Linked DNA regions of Homo sapiens: region 1 is linked to region 2. The links are contacts of gene promoters, found by promoter capture Hi-C in human tissues and cell types (Jung and others, 2019). All regions are on one chromosome and are shown on one strand. The core of a region is centred on a gene start or on the middle of the fragment in contact, and the rest is flanking DNA. Distances in the headings are between cores, read along the strand shown.

Region 1 (5,321 bases), core at 2,672-5,171, 400 kb after region 2:
TTCCCAACGCTGTGCTGGGGCAGGAGCCCGCAGGGCCCCAGAGCCTGGGTGGTCCCCGCTCCCCGGGCTCTGGAAGTCCGCTGTTCGGGGTAAATTGGCAGCTGCTGAACCCTAAAGTCGTGGGGCAGGGCTCCGACAGGCCTTTGCGCCTCCTTTCCCCATCAGCGTTTAGAGCTAATGGGAAAGGAATTGTTTATTTTCTTTTGTTTTTATATTTTTGGGTTAGCTTTACCGCTACAGAAAAGTAAGGTAAATGACCCCGCATTCACGGAGGGTGACTGTGCAAAGCGTGAACATGCGCCGAGTTTATGAAGCGGGTGTCGGAGCCAGCGCTGCTTCTCGCTGACCCGCATGCCCCGGCCGGCCAGGAACCTGCGCCTGAGTGCCCTGGTGTTTCTCTTTTTTCCCACGAAAGCACGTGTGAAGGGCAGAGCCACGTTTATCAAGAAGTCATTTTTCCCGTTCGCCGGCATTACACCATTAGCATTACAGGGGCCACCTACACCTCGTATTTCGATTCCACAGCTCCGGAGAACCTGCGGTGCTGCGGCCACTCTGTGGGTGTCCCCCCACCCCCATCTCCACTGCGAGCTCTCCGGCCTGGGCACGCAGCTGCTGACACACATCAGCATGGTGCCCTGGCCGGCATCTGCTCTGTGGCTGGTGCCTGCCTTGCCAGGGGCAGTAGGTATTGTAAATGCCTCTTTTGACTGGCACCAGCCCCCCGCCTCTCCTTTCCCTTTCTACAGCTGTTTCCCGGTTCTCTCACTGCTCCCAAGCGGAGAACATTTTCCTGCACCCCGCCCCCCTTCCCACCATTGCCAGGCCCTGACAGTCTCCACTTTGACGCCTCTTGTACTGTCCCACTGCCCATCAGCCCCAAATCTCATAACCTAGGTGGCTTCTTAATTTACTAAAATTACTCTGCTTCTTAAAATGCTTCGAGGACTCCGGGTTGCATGTAACCGTTCTTCTCAGGCTGAGCTGCGTGACCCCCTGGGGGCACTTCCCTGGGTTCTAGGGCACCAAAAGACTCCTGGGAGATGTCCTGTCTTACTCTGGAGCACCCATTTTACGTGAAGCTTAGAACTATTTTTGAACATTAAAACAAATATCAACGTACTTACAGAGTAGAAGATAAAACTGGAATATTTAAAAATATTTAAAATAAATTATGTGCACAGGGGTTCCCTTTAGGCTATGACCTAAGACCCTTAGGGGATAGGAGATCAGGGTCCTTAAGGAGTTTGAAGGTTAAGGGAGATCATTCTATCCAAAGAAACACAACGTCCTAGTGCGTCCTGCGCGGCCCTCTGAGGTGTAGCCTCTCCACCTGTCTGATCTTATTTCTCAGTGTCTTTCTCAAAGCCTGTGCTCTGGCCACACTTCATGGAGTTTTCTCTGCCAAGGTTGCTCTTGCCCTTCCCTTTCCAGGTGACACGCTCATATCCCCCTTCTAGGTTTATCGAGATGTTTTCTTCCTCTCTGAACCCTCTACTCTTTCCTCCCCAAATGGAGTAGAATCAGTTCCTCTCTCTCTTGTCCCCAGCCTCTCTCTTTCTCCCAGCTTCCCAACACATTCATTTTGAAAAAAGTAAGTGTTTTGGCTTCTGTGTCACAAGCGCTGTGGAGGAATTCTTTCCCAACTGTGCACATTCTGTGGGTTGGGGAAAACCAGCACCCACTTAAGGCACCTCCCTGCTTACACAATCCCCCAGCAGTGACTCTATGTGCAAATGTCACACCTGACTTGGCTCTCCTTCTTCCTCACAGTGCTGGGGCCCACATTTAGGGTTAAACACTGAGATAATCATTTCCTGGTTGTATTCCTGGGAACTGCCCCCAGAGAAACCCCAGTCAGGACTTGCCAGGGGGACCTGCTCTTCTTGCCCTGACTATGACAAACCCAGATTTGCGACTGGGGGTCCTCGCCCCATCTGCCTCACTTGTTTTCACTCTACTTTCTTCTTTGGGTTTGGGAAATTTGTCAAGAAGACCTCTTTCATCTTCCTCTAGAAAAGAGGTCTGAGAATCTGCCCTCCCTTCCTAGAACTTACCACTGTCCCTAACCCACAACTGGTGCTGACTAAACTCAAGTTGGTTGGATGGATGAAGAGACCATTGCAGGCAGCCCTGGAGAACCTCCCTCTTTCAAGTTCCTTCCCAGGAAAGAGTGTCTCTTGGGGCCACGGTTTTGTCCCTCTTCGCTAGCTTTGCCTTCATGGAAAGAATAGTACAAACATTTACAAAGAGCTCCAGACTGAGAAGGTAATTCCCACTTATTCCCAGCTGGTGTGATGTGAGGAGTGTTACCCCACCAGACCAAGGCGCCCAAATCCACATGCATGCCTAATAGCCAGTGGGACACCTGTGCTTTCTTTCCAAATCCCTCAATGAACTGTCTTGAGAAAGACTCACTCACCCACTGCCTAGATCAACCCATACCACCACCAGCCCTGTCTCTCACACTCTACATTTTCCCTGCCGTGTGGTTTCTGGGCTCAACTTCTTGTTTTTTAATTTCCAGGACCAGAAGCTTTCCTATGGTATTAGCATTATAGGTCTCCATGAAGTAGCTGAGTGGGTCGAGAAGTAGAGTTTATGCAAATAATTGGGGAGTAATCAATACTGTAGCTGGGGTAAATAAAACAATTAGAAAGCCATCAACAGGGAAGAACTAATTCTTCTTGGGGGAAGAGAAGAGCAGGGAACACCATCAGCAAAGAGGTGATGTGGGAGCATTTCAAAGGTGGAAGGAAGCAGAAAGAGAAGATGACGGCACATTCTAAAATGAAGGGAGGAGGGGTTGCAAAGGAATCAAAGCATCCCTGACCTCTCCTTCAATCAAAAAACTGTAAACAGAATATGTTTATTTATATGCGTTAGTATTTTTTCTCTTTGCAGGGGTAATTTTATACCTTTATGGAAAATCATTTAAAAGCCTTTTATCTATTAGAATTAAAAAGTATATAAGAAAAACATAAAAGCAGTAAGGGCAATGTTATTTCAGACAACTCAGAATAATTTAAATCGCCATCTGGAAAGCCCATCAGCGACAGAGCCTTCTGTGGCCTCTTTTCTCTCTCTCTCTCTCTCTCTCTCTCTCGGGCTCACAGGTCAGCCCAGAGCATCTGAACATGACCCACGTGGCCCAAGACTCGTGGTGACTTCTCACGGTGGCATGGCTCTGACTTGGAATTCCCCTGTAGAGGTCCTCCTGGGTGACATCATGTGCATTCCATGCTGTGAGGTGTTTCGAGCCTGTGAGTGTGAACTTTCTTTATGGACAGGAAGCAAAGGAAGGAAAGTGAATTTAGGAAAACAATGGTCATCTTAAAAAAGAGGTCAGATTTTAAACAAAAGTTTACCAGCCTGTTTCATATTTCTACTTATTTGGAAACAAGGCTGTTGAACTGTCCTGACAGGCTCTCTCAGACAGAGCTGGGCCCTACAATGGCGTTTTATGCAGGGCTTTGTGGGGAAATTTGGTGAAACAAGCCCCTGGGAGTTCTGTACCCACCCACGCCACAGGGAAGCCAGGGCAAGCTCTCTGCTTTTAAAGGGCTGGTGTAATAGAGCTCAGGGCTGGTGGGTTAACGGCATTACCCTTATTAACCACCTCATTTAATTCTCACCCTGGTGGGTTGTATCTCCCATCTGAGAAAACAGGCTCAGAAAGTTGTTTCTTGCCTACACTGTCAGCACTAGTGAGCGCACAGAACCGTACCTAGGTTCATTTGATGCCAAATGTTCACCCCAACAGAGGGAGGATAAAGAAGGAAGAGAATGGAGGTTAGAATGAGAACCAGTGAGTGTGCGGCCTGCAGTCAAAGTCTGTAATTGTCTCTCCTGTGGCTTGGCCAGGACAGTCCCGCTCATTAGCTTGTTTGGCCAACAGTGGTTTCTAATGAGGGGACTTGGGAAGATAGAGAGAAAAATAGCAGTCACGTGGTAAAAGTGTTAAGGTTTGTAGATGCAATGAATCAACACAGGGAGAAAATAGTCAAGTTGGGAGAAGAGAAATCACTTCCCCAACATTCAAGCTTAACTGATTTGCTTTGGGTTCAGCCTTCCACTCTTGAGTCCAAATACTACATCATGTCTGAATGTTCCTGTCTTGAAATGGTAACCTAATAATCTTCCCAGTCCTCAGGGAGATGGAGCATTGTTTGTTCCCTTCACCTTCTGCCCTTAGAAAGCACAGTCTTTTGGAAATTATCTTTGGCTCCTTGGATTTAAGCACTGAAGGCACTGCAGCCTTGTCGTGGTTCAGAAAGAACGCACGCTCTCCACGGGCCTGTTCGGCCCCCACTCCAGGAAGATGCCACTTGGCCTCAAAATATTAATGTTGGTGGGTTAAACTGGACCCTTAACCTCCTTTCCAAGTCATAACGGGTATGCAAACAGAGGGGTGGTCCTATGTGAGCTGGAAATAATGTTCTTGGCTGCCGCTTCCTTCTCTTTCTATTTTAGTCCTCAGGGACATGGCTTTTTTGCTTCTTTGAGATTTGGGAGTCTTGAGGTTTTATTGCAAAAAAAAAAAAAAAAGAATTCTGTGTGGTTTTAGAAGGCAAGTCACTTTTGAGTAATTTAAACCCTCATTTATCTAAACACGGAGGCTGAGGACCTCTTAGCGAACTGGGTCCCATGTTATAAAACTTTTGGCAAAGATTTGTCATCTATCCTGTGCTCTGCCCACACTCTTACCTAGCAAGTCCCGTCGTCATCTTTCCAAGCCAGTTTGGTCCTGCTGGTTTCTCTTCTTAGGTGTGCATTTTGTGCATGTATGTGCAGATGCCTGTGCACATGAGCGTGTGCTATACAGGAGGTCATGTTACAGAGAGCAGAGGCTGCGGCTGTTTACCAAGCCCTGCAGCCAGTGAGGTTCAGGGATAATTAAGAGAAATCTCCCTTGGCAGAAATGTGCCTGCTTGGGTCTGCTTCTCATTTTGGACAATTGGAAAAGGCAATCACTCAAGTTTTATTGATGCCAAAGAGTTTTTCACAGTCATCAATATGGGTTACAAAAATGAAGTTGTTGACATCTTATTTCTGGGGTTTTTTCTTTCAGATAATTGTAAGCCCTCAAGCATCATATATTCTGAAATAAGGCAGTTCCACCCCAGAACATAGCATTTTCAATGCACTACATGCAATTGATCTTACGGACATTCTGCCAAATTCCTGACCAATCATATCCATCTGTATCTATCAAGCGCATTCAGAGTTCTCTCGCTGCTGTAAGACAGAGGAAGAGTAAAATCTAAGAGTAAAGTCAGAGTAAAATCTGACCTTGATTTTACTCCAAGAGGTGTGAGATA
Region 2 (4,584 bases), core at 942-3,441:
GGCACTGCTACAGCAGCTAGTACCGGAGACTCTCCTATCTCATGGTTGAGGCAGACCCAGGATAGAATAGTGAATAAAAGGAATGCTTATAGGAAACAATTTTGCGTGGAATGCTAGATGGCCAAGCCTCAGCCTTTGGTCCAGTGCAATCCTTGCCTCACTTGTCAATAGTGAAAAATTAGTTTGGTTAGAAGAACCATCTGGAAACACACCAGCTTCTGCTACCTTCATGCTCATTGTCAGAAAAAGATTAACCAGTGTGAACGTTCTGATCTGTTAATTCCTGGGACTGTTTTCTTCCCAGTGGACTGTTTGTTGGTAGAATAACCCCCAAAGCTCAAAGCTAAAATGCATCATTAGTCCTCGTCGGCAGTTGAGCTGATTTGGAAAAGCTGCACCTTCCTGCAGAAGATCAACTGACCTGCTATCCCACTGCACATCTGAGGTATATTTCAGTGAAGGCAGGTAGCTGTGCTTTTCAGAGCAGAGAAGCAGTTTTAAGAGCAGAAAGGTAGAGGAAATCTAGAAAAGAACCGTCTTGATACAGATTTATCCCATGGTGTGAAGGGAGGGCAAAGAACCCAGTGGCACTTCGCTTATCCAGCAATTTCTGTCACTGTGGCGACAAACTTCTGCCCATTCCAGAGGGTCTTGAACTGCTCAGGAACTGGGAATTCATTAAAGTCACCGCCTTCTGTAGGAATGAGGACATTCATCTCAGAAGATTTGGCACTGGCTATTTCACAATCCAGGGAATTCTTGCTCAGGTAAGCATGGCAGCCATCTGTTTTGTTGATGGAAATGGTTGGCACTTTACTCATCACCTGAACTTTGACATCCCTACTGTTGATTATCTCCACAATGCCCACCATATCATCGAATACCAGACCAAGTTTCTTACAATTATCTACTGTAATGGAGTTAATTTTGCCCTTGATTTGCAACATCGTGTTGACACACTTGTATATGTAAGCCGCCTGTTTCAGCTCTGTGTCATCAATCACCAGATTGGAAACATTTTCCTGATTTTCCACTCTCCACTTCTTGCCCTCCAGTTCAAGTACAGCTGGCTCCTTCTTTGTGGCTGGTTTGGGGTTTAGGTGCAGAGAATGGCTTGGGGCCACTGCGTACTGGACCACTCTGAGCCTTCAGGGTAGGGTTCTTGTGAGTCTTCATGTCATCAGATACACGTTTCAGGGCATGTGTGATGCTCTCCCCCTGATTAATCTGCGCAAACAGTGCTGAGAGGGAAGCGGACTCATCTGAGCCTGAACTGACAGAGACTAGTGGAGGAGGGGGGCCTGGTGGTGGGGGAGGAGTAGCTGATCCAGCAGAGGGTCCAGATGGCAGTCCACTCAGTTCTTTTGTCACAGGCCCCGTTTTGCTCCAGGCAGTCCGGTGGTATGGAACTCCTTAATGTAAGCCTGCAGCTCTGTGCATATACTTAAATAAGCTTTGACTCAGTCTACATGCTTCTTATCCACATCTTTGTACTCTTTAAGGACTCAGTTTGTATAAAACACAGCAGCATGATTCATTTCTTTCACATAAGGGCCAGGATTGGGAGCCATAGCCACCCAGCCTAGGGCCTGGATACTTTCACTGACAGCTGACAGCTGATTAAACAACTTGCTGCCTCGGTTCTTCTCCCAAAAGGTTATCACTTCTTTGATCTGCTCTGAGATAGGTGCCAACAGATCGGAAAGCTTATTACCTGCCGGCTATTGACACTGAGAAGCTGTAACCAAGAGAGCTCACTCCAACTTCAAAACTGTGTGTACCATCTCCACATCTTTCTGCACGTCTTCCCCAATCTCTTTACTGATCTTCAAGTACTCTGCCACAGGGCAGGCAAGCAGCGAGTCAAATGCCTGCGCATATGGAGCTGCTCCTGCTTTTGAAGGACTATCTCCATATCCACGGTGCATGTCAGAGGTATGGGATACTGCCTCCAGGCGGCCCACTGCCCTGTCCAATTTTTTACCAGATTTTGCATGTCAGTCATAATGTATCACCTCCCGACTGCGATCAGCCGCTCTCCACTTCCCGCACCTTCACTTTTCAAAGATTCCCAGGTGATGCCAACCTGCTCTGCGGATGGAGCCCCTAAGACCCCAAGCGGCCCAGACTACGTTTCCCAGAGGCCTCCGCGGCCTCAGCCACTTCCGCTTCCGGTCCAGCCTGTCTCCGCGTGGTGCGAGCGCTGCACCAGCCCCTGGCTGGTGGTTACTGTCCGAACGGCGTGGTGTGGTCGCTGACTCTCTGGGCGTGCAGCTCCGCAGCCCTGCCGGCTCGGTTCGGTTCGTGAGCGGCCGGGGTCAGGCTGGGTCCCTGAAGCCTCGAGCCCCTGGCGGGTGCTCCCCGCCTTTCCCAGGGGCGGGTCGAGGGGCGAGCCGGGGTGGGAGGGGAAGGCGGCGGTGGGCAGTGCCCACCCGCAGTGGCTGCGCCGTGTGGAGCGACCGCTCGAGGCTGGTGCATCACAGAGCGCTCCAGCCTTGCGCCCCGGCCGACAGATTGGGCCACTGACAAGGCCGTCCCCCGGTGCTGCCAAAAGTGTTTGGCGTGGAGCTGGCTGCAGTCCAGGCCGGATCCCAGCAGCCGTTCCCTTTCCTTTCTTCCCGAGCGTACCCACCTGGACCTGTCTGCCCACCTGTGGAGGGAACGGGCGGGCGGGGACCTGGTCTAGAGGGCAGATTCTAGCTAGGCTAGGGCACGGAGGGACTTCCTCAATTTCCTCTCTTCTTTCCCAGATTGACTTACGCAGGATTCTCAGCCCTTGCCTGGGAGAACAGTTCAGGAGACAGATGGCCCCAAGAGCCCAGATCCAGGCAAGTTTGATTTTTCCATTTCTTGAGAAACCACGTGTTTCAGCGAGGTGGGGTTTATGCCTCTTGCCCGGACAATGCCCTGCCCTGTGTGTGGACAAAGCTACCCGAACCAATCCTGGATGGGTCCCGCGATTTCCGTCCTGTCTACCCATTACGTAGTCATTCACCAAGTAGATTATTGCTACCCATGTTTTCTAGAGTGCTAGAAACAGAAAAGTGCTTTGCAAACTGGCAGACGATGAAAAAAATACACGTTAGCATGTAAAGACGTAGGCCATAAAGACATAGGGTGATAGCAGTGCTCTCTTGACCTTTAGTGTGTGGTAGGGTGGGAGGGGTGGAGTAGTGGGCGCCTTAGTTCTTCCTGAAGAATAAATGAGATTTGCATAATTGCAGAGGATACTAGGGGAAAGCGCTGCCTGAATGAAGTCATTATGGCGGGACCATGAACAAACTGGTCTGAGAAAGTTGGAAACATTCATGGTCTAGAATCCCAGACTGGAGTTTGCTTTTATCCTGGAGAAAACTAGGTTTTGAAGGATTTTGAGAAGCTGATTAAATAATTGGTATTTTGAAAGGAAGTGATAAACATTTGAGTGTCTATTATACAAATAAAATTAAAAAAATTAAAGATCACCTACATTTCTACTGCTCTAAGTCAAGTAATTTCATTTGAAACACACTTTTCATTTTTTTAAGGCTTACTCATTTTTTCTTTTAGTATTTCATAGCCATTCCAATTTGTTCTAGTTTCATTACCACTTTTTGTGGCTTCCTTTTATACTGTGCCTTCAACCAGCCCTGGGACCTTGAGCAAGTTCTTCCAACTCTCTGAACCTTTGTGTCTTTAGCTACGAAATAGATTTTACTTTATATAGTTACGGCAGAAATTTAGAGAGATGATATGTATCTCAGGGTTTAGCACCGTGGCTGGTACATAGTAAGTTGTTACTCTTATGAAAAGCAATTTTTTTTTCTTTTTTAAAAATATTCTGCCCCAGAGTCAGATCATACTCCCTGTAAATTCTCGGATAAAGCTAATCACTTTCCATGTCTTTTCAAAGTTTCTATTCATTTGTTGATTGAATAAAGCTTGAACACTTCTGTGTCAGGCAGTGTTTTTGACTGGGAGGCAGCAGTGACCCACACTGTCCCCCTGGAGCTCACATTAGAGAGGATGCTGACAGTCAGTGCAAACCTCTCCTGCCAGGTGGTGAGAAATCCTGTGAAGAAAAGTGAAATGGGTTTCGAGACTGAGTGGCAGAGGATGGGGTGGAGAAATAGAAGACCTTTTTGATGAGGTGACATGAAGGGTGGAGTGAGCAGAGGCTAGGCCTGGAGGAGGGAGCAGGACAGGCATGCAGGAAGAACCTGCTCAAGGGAGGAGTCGCACATCCCCTGAGCCCTCAGCTTTTACTTGTTGGTTTCCATGAGCACTGTTGGAACTGTCAGAAGCTGGCTTTGACCACCTTGCTTCCTTCTCTTGGGATGCCTCCCTCAGGGGTTCCCGGATGAGCAGAATTGGGTTTGGTTTTGCAGGGACCGCTGACATTTGGGGATGTGGCTGTGGCCTTTACCCGGATTGAGTGGAGACACCTGGATGCTGCTCAGCGGGCCCTGTACAGGGATGTGATGCTGGAGAACTATGGGAATCTGGTGTCTGTGGGTGAGGATGGCTTTCTCCTTGACTCAGGATTGGTCTGCTGGGCAACTTTGTGTTTTCACAGGGTGAATGGTTTGGGGTATTGAAAAAATC

What was found. Contacts are between HindIII fragments. The study calls those that stand out against the background at their distance.
Region 1: a contact is called between a fragment that was not itself captured here and the fragment with the promoter of ZNF485 in region 2, in 1 of the 25 tissues and cell types used here (H1 embryonic stem cells).

Annotation. Positions count from the first base shown.
Region 1 is chr10:44,005,274-44,010,594 of GRCh38, forward strand. No RefSeq gene overlaps it. Among named protein-coding and RNA genes, the nearest start is that of LINC02659, 96 kb to the left of the region's middle. RefSeq lists enhancers at 534-1,107, 3,094-3,413. The HindIII fragment of the contact is 4,225 bases long and covers 1,810-5,321 here.
Region 2 is chr10:43,604,247-43,608,830 of GRCh38, forward strand. It overlaps ZNF485 (zinc finger protein 485), which reads left to right and starts at 2,192. Exons shown (of 5, transcript NM_145312.4): 1 at 2,192-2,300; 2 at 2,751-2,828; 3 at 4,368-4,494. The coding sequence starts at 2,805. It also overlaps the pseudogene CAP1P2. RefSeq lists an enhancer at 1,898-1,947 and a silencer at 2,228-2,507. The HindIII fragment of the contact is 5,082 bases long and covers 1-4,584 here.